Linked DNA regions of Homo sapiens: regions 1 and 3 are each linked to region 2. Evidence: promoter capture Hi-C in 16 types of primary human blood cells and fetal thymus (Javierre and others, 2016). All regions are on one chromosome and are shown on one strand. The core of a region is centred on a gene start or on the middle of the fragment in contact, and the rest is flanking DNA. Distances in the headings are between cores, read along the strand shown. Region 1 overlaps FRMPD4 (FERM and PDZ domain containing 4). Region 2 holds the start of FRMPD4 (FERM and PDZ domain containing 4). Region 3 overlaps FRMPD4 (FERM and PDZ domain containing 4).

Region 1 (2,700 bases), core at 99-2,598, 430 kb before region 2:
ATAAGCAACATATTTATAAAATATATGTTCCAAAACAAAATTTAGAAGAGTGGCACTGCTTTACATTAAAAAAAAAATCTTTAATGTCTGGCTCAATAGAAGATAGCTGGATTTTCATATCTGCTTCTGCATTCAGTCTCTTGTGAGATCACACATCCAAAAAACGCCATTGTGTACTTGTGACAGAATGTGAGTGAAAAGGACAACTAACATCTTTGTATTGTGAAAATAGTTTTGACATTCTGGATCTCCTGAATGGATCTTCAGTATTCCCAGAGGTCCCTAGATCACACTTTGAGAATCACTGCTCTAGTATGTCTCTCAACCAGGGAGTTAAGACTATATGGACCCCCGTTAAGTGACAAACTTATAAACGCAAGAGAATATGTACTGGGACTGGAGTCAGGGAAAAAGTGTCTTGAAAAGTGAAATTTTCCTCCATGGCTCCATATTACCACTGTAAATGAATTTAGTCTTTAAGAAGCAATCACAGTTTTGGGGACTTGGTCTCTGAGGAAGTCTCTGGCATGCTGGTCTACCCACTTCACTCTAAGATTCCTTCTACATAGGTCTGGTCTACTTTTTTATCCTTCATTTTGTTCTGAGAGTTTTCAAACTAGAAGAGTTTTTGAGCAGCTATTAACCAGTGACCTAAGAATAAAAGTCAAATTTCCTTTTTAAGTCCTTTTTAATAAGACAGGCAGAGCTCTGTTGTGCTTTAAAGGTACAAAGCCAAAGCACTTGATCAGTGTTCTCTTTGAAAATTTCTTGGACTTGCCCCTCAATTACGTTAAGAACTATTGGGGCTCAGGATACATCAACTCAAAAAATGACTATAGGAGATCAGAATATGTCACCCTTAAATATACTTCTTTAGCATATTTAGAGCTGGCTATTCTGAAAAACTGCAGACATAAGAGTCGCTATGATGAAACTGTCCTTTGGTAAAAATTTTGTAAAAAATTACATCTATAAAGGAAATCTACATTAGTCAAAGTATCTGTGTCAGAAAGAGGGCTGCTTAGAGACAAGTTTTATACCTGAGAGACTTTTTATTTGTACAGCAAGACAAGCTTCATTCACCACACATTTCTTCCTCTCACCTGCCCATGACTTGATGCCACCTCCCCAGAGAAGCCCCAAGCCACTATTCCTTTCTGTAGCTCAGGATGCTATATAAGCTTCAATTACCTGGCTCTTCTTAGACTCTCATATTTTGTGGGACTCCTGTGCGTATGTACATAATTACCTATTTTTTTCTCCTATTAATCTGTCTTATGTCAGTTTAGTTCGTAGTATAGTCAAAGAATGTAGAAGGGTGGAGGGAAGCCATTTTTCCCTCCCTTACTGCATGTAATGGGTAGAAGCCAGAAATGCTGCCTAGCATCCTACAGTGCATAAGATAGACACCCCCATAACAAAAAGCATCTGGCTTCAAATGTCAATAGAGCCATGGCTGAGAAACTCTGCTATTAAAAAATGATTTTATTTTTAATTTTAATCTTACAAGCTTTAGCATGTCTTTTTCTAAAGGCAGCATTTATTTTGCTTTCTTAAAAAGGAACTTAATCATTTCCCCTTTAATTATGCATTTTCAGGAATTTTTAGAACCCTAACATGATTACCTTAATATGTTTATACAGTAGAAGCTCTGGACTTAAAAATGGGTGAGTGAATTATAAGCACAGTTCAATGTAAGTCACAAGAAAGCAGTGTCTTACAGTTATCTGGGAAGCAATGGGTTAATCTAAGCTTTGAAAAGTTAAAAGTAAACCAAATAGCGTTTGTTATTGCAGGAATCATCAGAGGTCTTAAATGTCTAGAACATACTGCAAACCTCCCAAAGCGGTATATAATGCAGGGCATTTTAAAAACAGGGGCTCCTTTCTTAGGGAAACCTTTGGGTAGGAGTATTTTGAATAATAACACACTTGGAGAAACTGTCTTTTTAAGGGAAGGCAAATTGCTTCAGAAATATGCTAAGTGAAAACCCAATTAATCTTATGTTTTCCTTTTCTGTTTTCTTTAATTTAGAAAAAGTTCTCTTTGTTTAAAAGAAATAGAAATAAAATTACTATTATTTTATACTGTTAGCTGCTGACCACATAAAATGACCTTTTTTTGAAGCAAATGAAAGCTTCAGTGACCCCATGTTTAACAGAATGTAGCTTTAGAGCTGGGAAATTTTCAATCAAGTGAACAATAGTAATTAGGATACTCCTTTTCAAAGTCTTCCAAATCTAAGAATATTTATCATATCTTTTAACTATAGACACAATCATTCAGATGGGGATGAGTCAAGAATAGATGCTTTGCTGGAAGGGGAAGAAAGAGGAGGCCACAGGCCTCTAATTGAGCACTCCAGAAAAGCCAGAACATGGCCTGATTATTGCCAATTACAGAGTAGAATTAAAATTTAACATCTACAATTATGGGACAGAATTACTGTTCTGAGCTGTAAGCTCCAATTACTAAGACACAGTTAATCAAGATAGAAAGCCTGAAATGGCTCCTAGGAGAAAGGGGAAACAGGCAGGAAGAGGGAGGGGAAACTGCACCCTTTGTTTAGCTCCCATTAAGCCATTGTCGTGTTGCAGGTCATGTAAATTCACAGTTAACAAAAAAGTACATCCCATACTTCATTTAGTGTGACAAATGTTTAAAAAAATTTTTTTAACTGTTGCCATAGCAACACCTAGC
Region 2 (2,700 bases), core at 61-2,560:
CTGTGGCTCAAACGAAGACTTTGGAAGCATAAGCAGGGCAGAAGACCTGGAGGAGTGCTCTGGCCAGGCAACACCTAGGCGGCCCAAGCGTGGAAATGTTCCTCTTTTATCAGTACTACCCAAAAATGTCTGAATCGATGATTTAGTTTTAGCTACTGTTTTAACAACATGGCCACTTAGAAGAAAATTTCTAAATCTTTCGAGGCTTAAGAATATAGTTACCCCCCCCCCAAAAAAAAAAAGGCTGAAAGTCTTTCTCTTCTATCTACATGACTTCGCCATCTAGGTTACCGTTGGGAGCACCTGGTCAATCTAGGAGCTGACTTTGTGGAGGTGTGGAGGTGTAATTTAGGAGTTGGGGGAAGGCGGCACTTTTGGTCTTTGCAGCTTGGAAGGCAGGCACCCAAGCTCCAAGCACTTCTGGGTTTCCCTAGCAGTAGCAATTACAACCATCTTCTCTTAGCCCTGAATTATACATGGGACCCCAAACACCGCTGGGGCTTTTCCTTAGGGAAAACAAACTGTCGTGAATGTCGGTGTGTTGGTGAGGGCATGTATGTACCTCTCTGTGTGTGGTCTACACCCGCCGCTACACAAGCCTCAGCAGCCAGTGAGAAATAAGTTGAACGTGGAAGCCCCCGGCCACTTCGTTTGTCTTAAGCCCCGTCGCGCTTTCCAGCTTTTGCCTCTACCCAGCCTCCCGAAAAATAAGGCACCAAGTTGCCCGCGGCAGCGGCCCTGGGTGCAAACGGAACCCGCGCAGCCCCTACCTCGAAAGCTTTGCAATCTTCACAAAGCTGAAGACATCCATGCAGGCAGCTGGGGACCCCCGAGCGCGACAACTCCGTCGCCCCTTCTCACGCCAGCAACAGCAGCCTCCGCAGCCCCATGGCCAAGACCTCAGTGCGCCCGGGGCTCGAGTCGCGGCGACAGCGGGTGGCGGCGGCGGCCGGAGAGAACCTGCACCTGGAGGCGGCGGCTGCTACCCCCCTCCGGCCGCGAGCTGCGTGTGCATCCCCGAGCAGGACCATTGATAGGCACCCGAGGCAGGAAAACTCAATGGAGAGGGAGCCAGGCAGGGCGCAAGAGGCGGGGGCGGGGAGCGCGGCCCGGGTCTCGCGCCCCGCCCCGTGCGCTCTAGCCCCGGGGACTGCCGGGCGTCCAGAGAAAGCGAGGCCTGGGCGAGAGGCGCTGCTCTGGCTTCCCGGCCCTCGGACCCTCGTGCCCCACGCACCGAGGAGCGCAGACGGAGCCGGGAGACGGCAGGCGAGCTGGGCACACGCGCACGCACCCCTCGCAGCACTGCAGCTGCCTCCCTGCCTCCTTCTCCAAGCCGAGTCCCTGCTCCTCTCCCCACCCCCACCCGCCCGGGGGGAGGGGGCACTCTCCTGTCACCCACTGCGTGTGCCTCTAGATCTGAAGGATCTGGTCTAACAGTCTATGGCACACTGGAGAACTGTGAACGCTACCCCTCCCTCCCCAAGCCGAAGGAGAGCCGTGCAACCGCAGGTTGCTCAAAGCCTCGGTTTGCTCCGTAAACAAAACTAGCGTTCGGAAGGAGCAGGGATGATTGAGGTTGGGTCGTTTGTCAAGGGGAAGGGAAGGGAGATGCCAGGCGCAGCGGGCTCGATTCGGGGAGCTCAGAGTTCCCACTGCTTCTCCCGAATCGCTGGGGCGAGACGTGACCACTGGGCTGGCTGGGAAGGTGTGTCTTTGGACAGCAGCACCGCGGGAGTGTCTGCCAAATAAGAACCGGAGGCATTTGCGGGTAGGGGGATGAACACAGCTGCTCCCTCCTCGAGGAGCATAGAGCGGAGGGTCCCAGGAGCCCGTGATGCGGAGGCTAATTCTAACCGGGCTCAGAATCTAAGGAAAGAGAAGGATTAGAATGGGGTCTGCCACGCAGAGCGAGCTGCTTTTGCACACTGAGCCTTGGGTGAAGGGAACAGGGAAGAAAAAAACAAAACAAAACAAAACCTTGCCGGAGAAGCAAAAACACAGAAACATAAACACTCACCTTAGGCAGAGTAAACTCCAAGTTGCAGCCATCTAGAACTCCTCCTAGCCTTCTCTTTTACATAATTACCTTGGATAATCAGCCCTGTTCATTAACTCAGTTCTACCTCCTGGGAGGCTCAGGCTTCATTGGGCCCCTTTTTCTTCTTCCTCTTGAAGTCTCAAGGCCTCTTCTCCACAATCCTTTAAAATTTCCCCCCAGACTGTGAAGGTCAGCTGGCCGCACTAAGTGTGTGCTCTCCCACCGGCAGCGTTCACCTGGCGGCAGGGCCACCGCAAAGAACAGAGAGCACCCCCAGAAATGTTGGAAGATCCAGCCAGTGTTCCAGTCTAGCTCTCCGAGGGGATTAAGAAAGAAATAGGTTTAAAGTTCCCACACTTCTGCTCCTCTCCTGGTCTGTTGTTATATTTAAAGTCTTCAGTATTCAAGCCTAGTACTAAAGCGTTTTTTTTAAGCATTTATTTCAAAAACTGAACATAAAATAAATAGCAATCTGCAAAATCTAAATGACTTAAAACTCAGGCATAAAATTACATGTTTTTGAATACATAGTTATCAGTTTTCCTGCAGCTTCTATTAAACAGGCTAGTTTAATTGCATGAACGCAGTTACTACTCAAGGATCGGAAGGGGCGAGAGGGACCTTGGCTTTTGAACTCTATTGTTTGTAAAATAATTATAGTT
Region 3 (2,748 bases), core at 171-2,670, 510 kb before region 2:
CTCACCACTCAACTGAATAACTCCAAGGCATGTTTTCTACACTGATCCTGGAACTCCCCAAGAGGATGAAGCTCCAGTTGCCCACAGTGGCAATTGGTTTGATAACTTACATTTTATTGGTTGTCTTCCTTTTTGGTCTCACATCTCTAGTCTCTGGCTGGTGTTTCCTGGGATCACGCCCTAGATTATCTATACACACACAAATCCTTGTGTCAGAGTTGGCTTGTGAAGGAACCAAAACTAAGATCAATTAGTCATAGGGAACGTGTTAAGTCATGGAGAAGGAAGAACCAGGTGTCACAGAGAAGCAGGTGCCAGAGGAAATCTGTGTCCTGAGGCCTCACATTTTGAGCGGTTCAAGAATAAAAAGGTGAGAGATTCAGGTGAAATTAACTAAGGGGAGCCTATGTATAACGTTATCCTGGAGCCAGAAGGAGCTGGGGCTCCCAGTTGTTCCTAGGGGTTAGTGGTCATAGCCACTACCTCCCAATTTAGATGTATCAGAATTGGAACAATATAGAGCTTTACCAGGATTGAACATGTATTTGAATATTAACAATAAGGCAATGGTAAAGACCATAAACTATTTTTCCAGTTGGTAACTTTCGTATACATAGAAGGGAAGAGGAGACAAATGTAAACAGAGAAATACTATTTTTAATGTTGGCAAGGAATAGAGATGATATCCCCGAAGAAGCTTCAATTCGAAGACAATGTTTGCAGAGACTGTTTATAAACAGCTACAGGATGGAATATACCTTCTTACTGCAGGTAAAAATTAGGTTAAGGAACGATAGGTACATAGTTCAAACACAGCTATTTTGAAATGGCACCTCAAATCTCAGAAAACCTAGCAATGTTCCAATCCTCTCTGAAAGTTGACAGATTTTCAGTGAACCATGATAAAATTTTCTCTGAGGGAAAGAGGTTAGGGGATTTATACTAAATTTCTGAAGTGTGCCTCCCATGTTTGAATTTAGCCTCAACCTAGAAAAATTATTTATAAATTGATCAATAGTGATACTTTATCCATGGCAAAGCAGAGAGAAATCTCATTTTCCTGTCTATTGGGAAATACTGCTTTGAAGATGAACTTGGGGCACACTAACCCTGCAACTGAATTTTGAGACCTTTCTGTTTTATATTAATAGGACTTACAGTCTGCATTTGGGCTGGCTATATAAAAAAGAAAAATGTTTCACTCATACAAGCTATTCAATTACTACATGAAACATTATATAAAGATTACTTTTCAAAAGTATGTATCCATTGGGGTTAGAAACAAAGGAAAAGCAAGAAAAACAGAATTAGTGGAAAAGCTTCCTTCCTACAGAACCTGAGAACATAGCTTAGACTAATTCCTTATCTATCCTCTAAAATAATAACAGATTGGAGTTTAACACTATCTTTGCCTTTTACTCTTTCTACTCTCAAGGCTATGAAGAACAGGGTTGGTGGAGATCGTGATTTCCGTTTTTAATGTTCCTGTATTTTTCACTCCTGCCATCAAATGGAAGCTTAATCTCATGTCCAAAACTAGAGTTCAGAGTTTCAGAATTGAAAAGGGTGCAAACCAAAATGCATGCGAAAATCTATTTACAAATATGAGCAAATTTTTGTTTCTTAAACTAAGTATTTTTTTCTTGAGTTTCCTTAATGTCCGAGGAAGATTAATTTTCAACTAGGTAAGAGAGGAAAAATGTCCTATAGGGAGGTAAGGGGATAAGAAAAGGCAAATAAAAATTGCATTAAAGAGTGAGAGTTTTGGCCAGGTGCGGTGGCTCACGCCTGTAATCCCAGCACTTTGGGAGGCTGAGGTGGGCAGATCACCTGAGGTCGGAAGCTCGAGACTAGCCTGACCAACATGGAGAAACCCTGTCTCTACTAAAAATACAAAATTAGTCGGGCGTGGTGGTGCATGCCTCCAATCCCAGCTACTCGGGAGGCTGAGGCAGGAGAATCACTTGAACCCGGGAGGTGAAGGTTGTGGTGAGCTGAGATTGTGCCATTACACTCCAGCCTAGGCAACGAGAGTGAGACTCCATCTCAAAAAAAAAAAAAAAAAAAAAAAAAGAGTGAGAGTGTTAAAAACTACCTGATGCATAGTATGAGATACTATGCATGAAAAGCAGTATGAAATAAAATCTAATGAGATCTGAATGAATCATAATATGTTAGGAACAATGGTAAAGGATTAGCAGATAATATTTAATGGGTATGAGACTACTACCGTATGAATATTATTTTGATAATATTGTAAAGTCTTATTTTTCATATTTGATAAATGGTAGCAATATTAAAAATACCATAAGACACAATTATAAAAACACACATTAATGGTTCCTTTAAAAATTCATTTTTCTCTGCCCAAATGAGACCTTAATGGTCTCTTTGAAACTCATGCAATGTATCATCTAAATATGTTTTTAAGCATATCCTCAATAAAACTGTTAGGGGAAGTCTGAAAAGAACAGGTTAAGTAGTCAGTTTGCATAGTTAATAACTCACTCTCGACTTGCTTTGCTGTTATTCACATGCAGTTTCTCCAGGTAAATGAACTGCTGTTCATTTAAAGAAGTGGAAATAAAAGGCTTCCATATAGATCTCCAGAAACTGATTAAATGTGAGTGGTACTTTCAGCTTGAATTTGAAATGTGGCTAGTTAGGTCATCTTTCAGCTTCCAAGTTATGCCAGATTCCAACCTGGGCTGGGTCTGCTGCTTAAGGAGACTTGTGTTGGGGTGGCCT

Evidence for each region. Contacts are between HindIII fragments. The CHiCAGO score rates a contact against its expected background, and 5 or more counts as called.
Region 1: a contact is called between a fragment that was not itself captured here and the fragment with the promoter of FRMPD4 in region 2, in 1 of 17 cell types (total B cells). The highest score is 5.5, in total B cells.
Region 3: a fragment that was not itself captured here is called in contact with the fragment with the promoter of FRMPD4 in region 2 in 1 of 17 cell types (naive B cells); the score reaches 5.0 in naive B cells.

Annotation. Positions count from the first base shown.
Region 1 is chrX:12,571,280-12,573,979 of GRCh38, reverse strand. All of the region lies in intron 2 of FRMPD4 (FERM and PDZ domain containing 4), which reads right to left. Among named protein-coding and RNA genes, the nearest start is that of FRMPD4-AS1, 200 kb to the right of the region's middle. The HindIII fragment of the contact is 329 bases long and covers 1,184-1,512 here.
Region 2 is chrX:12,137,083-12,139,782 of GRCh38, reverse strand. It overlaps FRMPD4 (FERM and PDZ domain containing 4), which reads right to left and starts at 1,310. Exons shown (of 17, transcript NM_001368397.1): 1 at 771-1,310. The coding sequence starts at 811. The HindIII fragment of the contact is 1,954 bases long and covers 781-2,700 here.
Region 3 is chrX:12,644,673-12,647,420 of GRCh38, reverse strand. All of the region lies in intron 4 of FRMPD4 (FERM and PDZ domain containing 4), which reads right to left. Among named protein-coding and RNA genes, the nearest start is that of PRPS2, 150 kb to the left of the region's middle. The HindIII fragment of the contact is 198 bases long and covers 1,322-1,519 here.